Regions from separate parts of the Homo sapiens genome. Here regions 2 and 3 are each linked to region 1. The links are contacts of gene promoters, found by promoter capture Hi-C in blood cells and fetal thymus (Javierre and others, 2016). All regions are on one chromosome and are shown on one strand. The core of a region is centred on a gene start or on the middle of the fragment in contact, and the rest is flanking DNA. Distances in the headings are between cores, read along the strand shown.

What was found. Contacts are between HindIII fragments. The CHiCAGO score rates a contact against its expected background, and 5 or more counts as called.
Region 2: a contact is called between a fragment that was not itself captured here and the fragment with the promoter of TBC1D1 in region 1, in 1 of 17 cell types (M2 macrophages). The highest score is 5.3, in M2 macrophages.
Region 3: a contact is called between a fragment that was not itself captured here and the fragment with the promoter of TBC1D1 in region 1, in 2 of 17 cell types (M2 macrophages and M1 macrophages). The highest score is 9.0, in M2 macrophages.

The regions. Positions count from the first base shown.
Region 1 is chr4:37,888,631-37,893,469 of GRCh38, forward strand. TBC1D1 (TBC1 domain family member 1) reads left to right here and starts at 2,454. Exons shown (of 22, transcript NM_001396959.1): 1 at 2,454-2,718. RefSeq lists silencers at 1,973-2,162, 2,483-2,982, 4,012-4,061 and enhancers at 3,762-3,891, 4,322-4,601. The HindIII fragment of the contact is 15,185 bases long and covers 1-4,839 here.
Region 2 is chr4:36,324,656-36,329,019 of GRCh38, forward strand. All of the region lies in intron 8 of DTHD1 (death domain containing 1), which reads left to right. Among named protein-coding and RNA genes, the nearest start is that of DTHD1, 45 kb to the left of the region's middle. The HindIII fragment of the contact is 4,071 bases long and covers 520-4,364 here.
Region 3 is chr4:36,265,291-36,269,519 of GRCh38, forward strand. All of the region lies in intron 3 of LOC439933 (a long non-coding RNA gene), which reads left to right. Among named protein-coding and RNA genes, the nearest start is that of DTHD1, 14 kb to the right of the region's middle. The HindIII fragment of the contact is 787 bases long and covers 1,614-2,400 here.

The DNA.
Region 1 (4,839 bases), core at 1,204-3,703:
TGGGAGGGGGCTCTAGCCAGGATGTTCTGTAAGCAGAGCCCAGCAAATTATCTCTGTTCCCCTTGGCCTGACCCCTTTTCCCAGGAGCAGGGCCTGGCAAGCAGGGTTGTTAGGTAACAGTTTCAACCATCCTCTGGTGGGTTACATACAAAAAGCAGTTTACAGTGTCAATGAAATGAATGCTAGTGTACCTTTCTCGACCTCCTAGCACTCTGGAGGTAAATGTGTGCAGCAGGTCACTGCAGACAGGGAGAGAGAGTTCTACAACAGAGTTGAAGGTAAAAACATGAAATAATTTGGGATATGACCCAAGTGATAACAATATGGTTTAACTGGTTTACCTGGTCTTGTAACCTAAAGAATAATTTCCATAACCCAGTTAACATTCTACTCATTACAGTATTTATGACTGTATATTTCTTAAAAAAGAGTTGAGGCTATGCACACAAATAACTACTCAATGACAAAGAATGAGCTGAGGGCTACACAGTGGCCAGAGAGCAAGTATATTATAAAGGGCTTTGGATCTTGGAGATTCCAGCACCCACTAACCCTGTAGGCACTAACCTCTTACTTTTCTCCTTAGTCAAATGGATTTAACAATCTTTGCCCTGCAGAGTTTTTGAGCAAATTAGCAACAATATATAAGGACAGTATCTAGCACAATACCCCAAATCGACTAACTCCTCCGTAAAGAATAGCTACCACTATTGTGAGAGTTTTAAGTCAAGCTGTGAATAAAACTCTTGGGTCCACTTAAAAATACCTCCCCTGGATGTAAGCATCCAGGGAAATCAGGGAATGCCATAAGACAGCCCTAATCTAAAAGCCTACAAGAAGCTCAGTGGGCTTCAAGGAAGACACTGCTCTTGGTACGATGAGGAAACCTGGCCCTCTATTTGCCTCCTGGGCCACAGTAATATTGATAATAGCTGCTGCTTTTAGTTGAGGACCATGTACGTCTGTGTCACTGCACTGGCCACTTTACTTACACTTTCCTGCTTTGTCCTCACAAAGATCCTGTAAGGTGTGTATTGGTCCCATTTAGCAGGTAAGACAATGAAGACCAGAGGTCCAGCACCTTGCCTAAACCACACCTGCTGGGATTTGGATTCAAGTCCAACCGTACAGCTCAAACGCTCAGCCACTTCCCTAAAGTCCACCCCCAGCTACATTAAGTAAAAAAATCCAGAAAGATGCCACCTGGGGGTCTGGAACTGCCTCCTCCGAGCACCCGGCTCTCCCCTCCCTGCGGACTCTTCTCTGGAGAGGATGTGATGCTTCTTACTTTTCTCAGATCCCTCTCCCCACCCTGCGAGTGACGTTGCGCCTCTGTGCCTGGTGGGATAGGGATCTGGGAGCTTCGCCTGTTTTTTGCACACTGCCATCCCCTAGTCTTAGGGAGCGAGCTCTGTCCCGCTTTTCACATCTCCGCGTCTTTCCTTGCACTCTACATCACCGCTGGGAATGTCCCCAGACCTGATCGGGGCATGCACACTGGGGTGTGCGTGTGCGTGTGGTGTGTGTTCCTGCGCGTGTGCCGGGCTCGCGGGGCAGGAAAAAGCGCCTAATCCAGGCTCTGCGTCACTCCCGCAATTGGTTAGAAATGGAGTTTCCTGGTGTTTAATCCCGGGAGGGCACTTCGCCTTCGTTGTTTCCCAGAGTCCCTGATTTTCCTGCCTCGCATGCCAGCGCCCCATAGGGCATCCGTGCCTCAGTTCACCTCTTGCCATCCTCCAAGGACGGGGAGAAGGGGTAAGGCGGGGGAGAGCAAGGTGGCTTGGTCGCCCCCGGCCCCCGCCCCCCATGTTGTGTGCAGTTTCCACCACGTCTGTTTCGGAGGGAGAAGAGGAGGGTGCAGATGAGGCGAGGCGCCTTCGGGAGCGCGGAGAGCGGGCAGGCAGTGCCACCTGCTGAGAGCCACTCAGGCCGAGCAAGCGGCGGGCAGTGCCACCTGCTATAAATAGGCCGCCAAGGACAGGGTGTGCGACTGTACATCCCGCCACGAGGGCCTGCATCACGCGCGGGGCCCCGCGCCCCCGGCTCCCCAGGGAAACGCTGTGCCCAGATCCTGCGCAGGGGTCTGGATGGGGCGGCGGCCCGAGTACTTCCCCCCTATTCCCCCCACAGACACTGGCTGAGGATGGCCCGCGGGCTTGGGGGCGGGGGGTGGCAAGGAGGGGAGGGAGGCCGCGGCGGACCCGCAGTGCAGCAGCTGTTGCTCGCGTGTGACTCGCCCGTCCGGGCCGTGCTGCCCAGGCACAGTCACACGGCGCAGTGGGGAGGAGGAGGACACCGAGTCCCCCTCCCAGCTCCCCGGGGACCGAGTGGGGAGATCCCGGCTCCTGTCTTCCCCTCGCCTCCAGCGCGCTCGCCCAGGCTGGGAGGAGGAAACCAGAGCCGCGCGCAGACACCTCCTCCTTCTCCTCCTCTTCTTCCTCCTCCTCCTCCTCCTCCTCTTCGGCTGCTGCTCCTGGTGCCGCCACCGTCCGCCGGTGCCTGTTGCTGCCGCCGCCGCGGGACCTGCTGTGTCCTCAGCTGGGTGGAGAAGAGGCGGGCGCCGAGCCGAGGGGAGCCCCCTCCCCGTCCCCCCGCGGCGGGAAGAGCGCAGCCAGCCGGGTGCGATGGACTCCCCGCCCGCCCAGGCCGTCCCCAGGATGCCCCCAAGCACCTGCGCGTCCCGGCCCGGCCCCGGGCTCTGAGCGCGCCGCGGCACAGGTAAGGCGCTTCCTGGGGCTTCGTCCTGGCCACCCTGCTGGCTCCTCTCGGGGCGTCGCGGCCGCCCCCTCCCGCAGCACGCCCCTGCCCCGCCTGGCCGCGGAGGGGAAGGCATCTGGCCGCCCACGGACGCGAGGCCAGGGTCTCTCGGGGGAGGAAGTTCATTGCCATCTCGTTGCCCCCCTTACCCCCCCACCCCCGCCGCCCTTGGACGAAAGCGAAACCTTAATGTTGCTAGCGACCCGAGAGCTCCGCCGGCTTCTCCCCCAACCCCCGCCAGCTCACTGGTCCGCGCATCTCTCCCCTCCCCCCTCCCGCCAATTATCCTAGCGTGTTTGCAAGGCGACCAGATTGGAAAGAGTGTGGTCAGAGTGACCCCAAGCCACGCTTTAAAAGTTCAGGGTACTTTGCAGTAGTAACTTTGGCAGCTCCACCAGTGCGCGCAACATTTCTTTCTATGGGTACATCCTGTACCAGTCATTTTGAAACCCTGCTTCATTGTTTCTAGCCGCTTCCTGATGGCTCTGTGATTATGAGACCCCCCTCAAACTTCACCAGGCATTAAGGTTTTGTTTTTGCTTTTTTTTCAGAGAGGTATCATTTCGTTTGAAATCCACCTAGATGTGGCTTTTCCTGTTTTGATTTTACTTAACATAGCTTATTCTCTGGAAGTTGCTTTAAAAAGAAATTGAAAGTGATGGTTGTTCCTTCCACCAAACAGTTTAATTTTCAGGGTGCCTCATATTAATGGATATGTTTTCCCTTCATAGATTTCTCATTGTTTCCCTTATGATGGGATGATTTCATTTATTAATAAAATCAGACTTTGAAAGAGCATTTAAAAATGACCTGGTTTAAATAGGTCACACCCAAGAAACTCAGCTATCTGTACAAGTTCAAACTTCTAAACTTTTTCAATGAGCTAGGGGTGGTGGCACCCACCTGTAGTCCCAGCTACTTGGGAGGCTGAGGCAGGAGGATCACTTGAGCCCAGGAGTTCGAGGCCATAGTGAGCTATGACTGTGCCACCTCACTGGAGCCTGGGTGACAAAGTGAGATCCCATCTCTTAAAAAAAAAGAGTTTAGGGGACATTTTCTGAAGTGAACACAAGTAGAGCATTCTAACACTATTGAGTGCAAGGAGACCTGGAAGGGACTAAGTGGTTCAAAGCAGGAAATAAAATCATCAGGTGATAATTAAAATAATTTCTTTCCTGTGGATTTGTCCAGCCATTTGCAAACCAGGAGAATAGGAAAAAAAATCACTAGTGTAGTTATAAATTATTACATTACGTTTTCAAAGGAAAATTTTGCAAATGCGTCTCCTTGTCATAGTCTATTGTTATCTACCCCACTGAGAGTGCTGGGGCTTCCCCTTTTCACCACGACAGCATTTCTGGTTGGGTGGCAGTCATGCAGTGTTGACCTGGTGTCCCATAAGGCACAGTTTGTCAAAACACTAGTGGGTATTAGGAGGAAACGTGCAACTCTGAAGCAACAGAGCTTGCCCCTTCTTCCTCATTATCCAGCTGGTGATAATCCCTGTCCCCCACTTCCCTAGAAGACAGCTTTGACCAGGAAGGCTGCAATGACAATGAGATGTACCCCTATGCAGAGCCAGATGTGGGCGGGTGGCTTTTTTGTGGTCCAGATCTTCTAGGATCTTCTAGGATGTAACCCTGGCAAGCAGTGGGGAGCCTGAATCAAGCAGCATGGCTGTTACCTCTTCTGTGTTCACAGCAGCATCTTCAGTTGTCTTGGTGCCTGGAGCAGGCACCACAGCTGCCTGCTCTGTTGGCCACCAGCTTTCTAGAGTAGATGGTAGGGAGGAGAGCAAGGGGCTCAAGAGGATTCTGTCTTTGAACATGCTTTTAATTTGATCTGACAGAATGGCAGCTCCCTGAAGTCCTTCCTACTCTCTCCACAGCATTTCTCTGTAGGTCCCCAGTTTTTGCTCTTTTCAGATTCCCAGAGGACTGAAAATGTATCACGGCCCATTTGGGGACTTCCTGTATATGTGTGGGTGCCTCAGGATCATTTGTTTTGCCCTTTTCCAGTCTACCGTGCTGCCCTTCTCAAGTTTAATGACCACGTTAGTTTCAATATTTTATATATTTCTCA
Region 2 (4,364 bases), core at 1,305-3,804, 1.6 Mb before region 1:
AAAGTGATAATAATAATAGTAGAAGCCAAAATTCTAGCTTTCAAGGAGATTACAGTCCAGTTTAGGAAATAAAGTATAAAACTTTAAAAGTTATAAAACAAAGCAAGAGATAAATAATAATTGAATACAACAATACAGCAATAGCAAAAGGCAGGAACTGATTGTTAATTGCAAATGAATAGTAAGATGTTAAATGCTAGGGCATTTCAGAGAAGGGGGTGAACGCTGTGGACTGAGGTGACTTGCGGGTGCTTCAGGGAGCAAAATGATTGCAGAGAATGTTTAGGGTCTGGAGAGGAAGAGAGAAAGGGGCAATGAGTTTCACACAAGAGAGATGGCATGAGTAGAAACTTTGAAGTGGTCAAGCACAAGACGTGTTCCGAGAAAGGATGATGAATGCACCTGTTTCTTCAGGGGAAGATTTGGAAATGTCATGTTGGAAATAAGCTGGGGAAAGATTATGGAGGGCCTTTAATTCCTTACTTAGATTAACTAAATGACTCTGTAGTTGTGGTAGCAAGCTTTCTGTCAAAATTCACCAAAAAACTGTGATTGATTTCATGACATAGAGAGCACATGCAAACCAGAGACCCTTAGTTTTTGAGTAAACAACAAAATCTCTCATCTACTGATACTCTTGAAACTGGTATGGCCATAATTGAGGATGGAGAAATAGGTATCTGGTTTGTTTATAATTAAGTTGATCTTTTATCTTTTGAGTAACAGCTAAAGCCATTGGAAAGCCATTGGAAAATTTTAACTAGGAGAGTGATATGATCAAGTTTTGTTAGCAACATTACTACGACAGCCTATAAGGATAAACTAGAAATGGATGAGCTTAGCAATAGTAAAATAAAGAGCTAATGAAATAGTCCACAGAAGACAGTGTGATAGCCTATGTAAGATCATGACAGTAAAGATAGCAAGAAAAGAACAGAGTTAGAGAGAGATTCAGGATTTGAGATCAACAGGTCTTGGTGATAGAGTGAATGTGTGTGGGACTGGGTGGCAGGAGAATATTGGCAGATAGAGGAAGTCGTGAAGGGGATTTCCAAGGTTGCTCTCAGTACACTGGTTTGAGCTACTGTCCTGTGATATAATACAGTGTTTGTTGATTTTACTTTGGAAGTGTTGTTTAAACTTGCATTTCATCTTCAGTCCCTCTAATATTGCCTTAACACACAGATGATAGCAACATTTTCCTTGGAGGCCTATCACTAGTTCCCTTATCTGCTTTAGGCTGCCTTCCTCACAATTGACAGCTTGATTTTTCTCAAAAACAAATATGATTTCATCACTCTTCCAAAACTTCTCATTGGATGTCTATTGATTAAAAGTCCAAGCCAGTTACCGTGGCATATAGGGCCCATTGCAAACTCCCACAGCTCATCGTCATAACCTTTTTATATTACATTTCCCCAACTAACATATTTTGCTCCAGTTCTACTTAAAGCCTCACTTCTCTTCAAGACTCTTCCCACGGGCTGCCATTGTGACAGCAATGACTCCACACTTAACCCTATTATCCCCTCTTTAGGAGCAGTCTTTAAGTTTTCCAGGAAGTATTAGACACTGCACTGTATCTGTAACTAAAGCACTTTGAATATATATATAACATATATATTATATATATAAACATATGGTCCATTATAATTTTTATTTATATAAAAATCATGGTAATGATAATAATGATGAATACCTACTAAATTATTCCCTGCTAGTAACTTGACAAAGCATTTACACATTAACTTATTTATTGAAAAAAAAAAAAACCTTAAATAAAAGTTTCTTCATTTAAGAAACTGAAGCATATAGAGGTTTTCCCCAAGGGGAAATGGCAAAACTACTGTTTGAAACCAAGTTTGTCTGATTTCAATGGCAACACTCCTAACATTATACTCTACTGTCTGCTTTTGAGACTGAGTTCCTCAGGGTTGAGAGCACTGCTCATTCAATTTTGTAATCCCTTCCCCGAGGATGCATTCAATAATGTTTTGCTGAACTCTTTAATGAATAAATGAAAGCATGCTGGGGAAATTGAAAAAGCAATTGAAGGTGGAGTTTTAATAGCTGACAGAAGCCTTACCTGTTTTCTTCCCATCTAGCAGTTGCATTTAGCAGAAGCCTTTCATGACTTTAAAGGAATGACTAATAGGATTTCACACACTGTGGCAAGACCTGGGAGGGTGACATTTTGTGTGTGGCTGTCCAGGCCTTTCCCAGAAACATTCAGATTACTCTTTCTATTGGAAAAACTATTTCTAGCTATGATCCAAAAAGCCAAACCAAAACAAGGATTTGTTTTTCTTTTTTTTTTTTTTTCTTTCTTCAGACGGAGTCTCGCTCTGTCACCCAGACCGGAGTGCAGTGGCATGATCTCATCTCACTGCAACCTCTGCCTACTGGGTTCAAGCAATTCTCCTGTCTCAGCCTCCCAAGTAGCTAGGATTACAGGTGCCTGCCACCTCGCCTGACTAATTTTTGTGTTTTTAGTAGAGACAGGGTTTCACCATATTGGTCAGACTGGTCTCGAACTCCTGACCTCAGGTGATCCACCTGCCTTGGCCTCCCAAAATGCGGGGATTACAGGTGTGAGCCACCGCGCCTGGCCCAGGATTTTTTTAAATCTGCTATAATAACCTAGAAAGAATTATGCTAAGAGTTAAATAGGCACAGGAATAAATAGGGACAGGATTAAAGTGGAGTGACAAAACCTGTGGGTATTATAATCTAAAAGTGGAACAATAAAGAGAGGAGGTTAATATTAATGCAAGTTCTGGCAATGCTGTATATCTTTCTTTGATTTGTTGAGCTGCTTTAAGAAGTAATAGCGTCTTCCACGTAGCTGCATTTATGGGTCAAGGATATCTGCTCTTGACAAAATTACTTGGAATACTGAGCAAAGTCTTATGCATTTTAACGATTATTTAGATTTATGGAGCGCTTGCATGTTTGAAGTGCTTTATGTGCATTACGTCATTTAATCCTCATGGCAACCTCATGTGGTGCACCTACTTTGCCCATTTAGTAGGTAAAAAATGAAGATAGAGACATGCATTTAGAAATCAGATTTATCTATTCCAGACTGCTTTTGATAATTTTTCTTCACTGCTTCCATATATATTCCATTTATATTTTCTGAAATATCTAGATCTTTGCCCACTTTATATCTGTACACATTCCTGGATGCCCCTTCCTTCTATCTGTCTCCACTCCTTAGATTCTTTGGAGTTATTTGAATTCATCCATCTGGTTACCAGGGGCCTAAAGCTGTCTTCTTTTGTCCAATCAAGGACTGAGAAATTTATCAATCCCCCCTCCCCTTGAAAAAACTATAAAGAGATTGATGTTATGAAAGAGTGATTTTCTAAGAAGCAAGCAACTGAAAAAATAATGAAGAAGCAAAATATAAAGCTGGCTGCATAAAAAAATGTGCATGGGTTTGAAGCAAAGATCTGAGCTAAACAAAGCTACAGAACTACACTGCTTCCATGATTGGTAGTAGCCTGATTTTGTTTCCAAATCGAATTTCTGTATTTACCTCCAAGTGAGACCACTATTGGTCAGCACTTCTTGCTCTAAACTCTGTTCTTATTTTGTTCCACAGCAATCTTACTTCTCTGTGGATTTGTGCTGATTTCCAGACCTCTCTATGTGGAGGTACTTCCTTTTATTTTGAGGGCCAAACGTTTCTGCCTAGGTTTTCAGGAAGTTCTACACTGTGTAATTATAAGAAAGTTCACGAAGACAACAGCAGATTATTGGTGGATGCTGGTACTACGATCTTTTAATGTACTTATTTAGAAAAAAAACCGTGTGTGTGTGTCCACGTGTGCATGCCTGTGGGCATGCACGTAAGCACGCGCAAATACTTAAATACACACAAAAACAGAGAAAATATACAATGAACCTACATGGACACACCTCCCATCACTTTCTGCCATACTTATTTTGTCTAGTACCCTGGTTTGTGGGTTTGTTTTGTTGGAGTATTTTAAAGCAAATCACAGGTGCAATATCATTTTATGTGTAAAGACTTCACAATGCTTCTCTAAGAGGTAAAAACTTTAAAAAAAGACACATGACCACATTACTATTGCTACACCCAATAAAATTAGTAATTACTACACTATATCAGCTACTGCCCAGCCCCTATTCCCTATTTTCCTACTGACTCAATATTTTTTTTCTTTTTGCAGTTGATTTGTTCAAAAACAATGTCCAATCAGGGCCTACACATCACATGTGGGTTCATTTGATGAATTACTGATGTAGGCCCTGTCATTTGTAGACATTATCTCAGTCAGTTAGAGACTTCAGTAAGAAAGTTTAGTTTATTGGCTCAGCTTGTAGGACTTCACAGG
Region 3 (4,229 bases), core at 757-3,256, 1.6 Mb before region 1:
AATGTCTGGGTGTGGCAGTGACACCAAGGCAGGTGTGTTGCTGGGAAACCCAGAAGTCCTTTGTGAGTAGAGATTTTTGGCTTGAGACCTCCCAGATGGCTATGTTGATCTTTTCTTAAAACCGCAGGGCTGCAGGACCCATTTAAAATGATTCCACCAAAATTAACTTCCTTCCTTGCTTCCTTCCTTCTTTCCTTTATTCCTTCCTTTCCTGTTTTTCTTTTTTAACCAAGGTCAGACCAAGCCTTTCCCAGCTCCCACCCCTTTTCTCTCTCTGGCAGTTCCCTTAATAAATTTCTTACATGTTTAATCTGGTACAGCTATTTGCTTCTTGGATGACATGGATGAACACAACTGCGAAAGAAAAATGTTAGCACACTAAGAAAATAAGGTCTAGAACCAAAGAGGGAAAAAAAGGAAAGTTAATAAACAAATAATTAATTTAGAAAAATTGACCTCTATAATTTGATTAGACCAACAAAACTGCCTGGGTGCTAATTCTAGACCTTTTTTTTCACCACATAGAGTTTCAAGATAAGAGTTTCTTTATATAGAGTTTACACTCATAGTTCACATACCCTTCCTTCCCTAACAGAAGCCAGGCTATGTCTGGAAAGTGTACTTAGAATGGGAAAATCCAGTTGTCCTGAGACCACACGGATGAACATCCATGGAAATTTACCTGTTCCATGCCTATGTTCTCACTCACTTCCACTAGTCTTTTGTCTAGAGTGAAGTTATCTCTGAAAGAGTATCTGAGAAAATATAGCAAGTTTTCCAAGTTCCAGGAAATCCGAGTAGGTGAAGATACGCTTCACCTCACTGTATATAATGCAACATTGAATGGACTGACACTTATTCTGGCCCAAAGCATAGTTGATCTAATATTTGAATAAGACTATAAAGGATAAGCTCATCTTCCTTTCTTCCATTGCTTTATCTTCTATTTCAGCTTCCATTGAGATGATCAAGAATATGCTAAGTTAGTACTCTATTGCCTAAAAGAAAATTAGTTCCCAGGAAGACAGTTTAATTTTCAAATGCTTTCACTGGATTCAATATAAGAACCAGAAAGAAATATTGATGCTTTTTCAAAGCCTCTTTTGGAGACCTTGTTCATTATATTAATAATCCTTTACATAAAGATCTAGATGCTAAAATCATCTGTAATTCAGTACCTGATACCTCCCGGATGGCTAGGTTGATCACTCCTTAAAACTGCAGGGTCCATCTAAAATGCTCCCATTCAAATTTCCTTCCTTCATTCCTCCCTCCCTCCCTCCTTCCCTCCCTCCCTTCCTTCCTTCCTTCCCTTTCCTTCATTTCTTCCTTCCCTCTTTTTATTCTTCAACCAAGTTCAAACCAAGCCTTTCCCAGCTACCTCCCCTTTTCTCTCCCTGGCAGAAATGTTTTATACCTCCTTTCATCTAAAAATGGGACTAAGACTTTATTCTGCCATTGCCTTGATGGCCAGGAAACTCAGTGTGAAGGTCAATGCTTAAGAATGATGTTTCCACTTTCCTAGTAATTCTTTTTCTCTTTTCCCTGTATAATTTTTTATTTGTAAAACTTTATTAGTAGTACTTATATTGTTTGTGAGTTTATTTTAGGTAAGCTTAAATAGTTGGATTTTTTAGAGGGGATGGAAATAAGTAGGCTATAAAATTTTAAATAAATTATACATGTACGTATATATCAATGTTTACTATGCCCAAACCATGATTAAAAATCACTGATGAAGTTTTAGAAATAAACAGGCCAGGTGGTGTGGCTCAAGAATGTAATCTCAGGATTTTAAGAGGCTGAGGCGGGTAGATCACTTGAGCCTAGGAATTTGAGGCAGCAGTGAAGTATGATTGTGTCACTGCACTCCAGCCAGGGCAACAAAGCAAGACCCTCATCTCTAAAAAAAAGAACAAAAAAAGAAAGAATACTGAAGGGAGTTGTGAAAAATTTAATAGTTTCAATTCAAGCAAGCATGCGAATTTACATCTCATGCTTTTTATTTAAAGGAATGGATCTTTTTGTTTAACCTGTGTCAGGTAGCAGCACTGGAACACGAAGCTGATTGGTTACAGATCTGGTTCTGTAGTATCATGAGAGCCAGCTAGCTCTTCCCTCGGTATCTCCATTCATAAAGTATGAGGGTTGGACTAGGAAGACCTAAGGGATCATTTTTAGCTCTGGAATTGTATGATTTCTTCTGAATTTAAACTTATTCTATTTCAATATTTAAACATCTAATTATCATAGGAGAACACATTCAAGAATGACATTAAGAGGTGACTATGCAAGAGGAAGTTTCCTAACTCTTTTCTCTTTACAAAGACATGCTGAGGACATGGACTGTAATGAAGCATTTCCTTTCAAATTAGATTTGAATGTTACATCAGATAATGAAGCTTTTGAAGTTCTAAGAACTCAAAATTCCATTCAGTGGTCTGACGTCATGAAAATGGATCCTTAACCAGTCAAAAGAGCTAATTCATTTTGGGAGAAAAAATGAAACAAAAGCATCTACAATTTCTTAGTCATTATAGTAGCTCTGTGAAACTATTATATAACCAGCTTAAAAACATACTGTTTTGGTATATATTGTGCAAAAAAGATTCTAAGCTTGACAACAACAAAGAATAGACTCAGTAACTATTTAGAAATACAGCAATTTGCTTTGTTTCAAGCATAGCTGTTACCAATTACTTCATTCTAGCAGTCATGATAGAGCAATACCATCTGAAGGACCTTGGCATTAACTTTGTTGTGAAATATCAGATAGTCTTTGCATGCTGCAACAGGTTGAGTATTTATTTACCTGTAGCATTAATTTGATCTCCAAACAAAATTATATGATATGGGCAGATTACATAGCAATAGAAATGTGTTTATTTAAGTCCAACTAACATAGTTAGCTAGCTAGCTGTGCCATGTAGGCTAACCTACACAAACATGACGTAAGATACATACTTTAATTTCAGCTGCCTGAGAAATGAAACTTTTCTTCTCAGTGCCTAGAAGAGTAGGCACACAAATGTGAAAGCACATAGTAGATGCTTAGCAAACATCTGGTAAATAAACATGCTTTTATGTTATCTTGATAAGCTTAGTGTCTAAAGTGGGAGTTATTAGCATTCACCAAAATGGATGAATTTTATTTCTCCATAAGACATGGAATTTATGATAGAATGTGTGTATAACTCTATATGTATACTTAGATGCCACTGATATTTGTTATATTTCTGGTGTTTTGTTTAGCTGTTTATGGTGGTTGCTCTTGTTTTCTTCAAAAATATTGAAATAGAATTGTCTACTTGTGAGAAGTCCTTTCAGCCTGATCTTATGAAGTGCTATAAGCTATATTTTACCTCAGTATTGAGGCTCTCCAAAAAATGTATCTTTCAAAACCTCAAAGGAAACTGTATCTTGTGTAGTTAATGCAATCAGCCACAGCATAAAAGACTTTTCTGAAGACTTGTAAGGGATCCAAACTTCCAATCTCAAGATTCGGCTGAAAGGGGCTAGAAGTAATTATCTGATAATATATACTACTATGTTTTCTCCTTTTTGTATCCAAGAAAGTCATTTGAGAGTAAACATAGGGGAAAAGTTGCATTAGCAAGTAATATACAGCAGAGGTAAAAATCCCAGGAACACCTAGAGAAGGAGCAGGCAGGAGTAAAACTGTTTCTTTCATGGCTTACACATTGTAGGCCAGAAAAAAAAAAAAAAAAACAAAAAAAAAAACACTGTACATTTTCATTCAAACTCACATCCACAAAGTCTTCTCTGGATCAACCAAATTAAACTAAATCCACCAGCATGAGAAATTCAAGGACTGAGCAGAAGAATGTCTCGTCATTAATAATAAATTGGTATATAACCCAGAAGACCCTTCTTTCTTTCTTTTAAGTTCAAGATATGGCTGCTTCCGAATTCTTGTCCCCATGGAAACAAGATGTGCTTGGTATAACAAGATGACAGAGGGAAACAGCTTCACAGCTGTGGCTACATCACTGGGGCTGGTTTCACTGTGAAGTTCTTCTGACTGCTACACTATTGGTTCATCTGTGATTCCCCCGTTCTTTCCACAAATCGAGGTCTATGCAACAGTTTGAAGTTGCATTTGAGGATGTCTCAAGTTTTTGATATTTGACATCTGTTGGTTGTGTTTCTCTCTATTGCTTTCTTGTCTATTTCATGCATTCTTTAAAAATCTTGTTTAATACATTGCT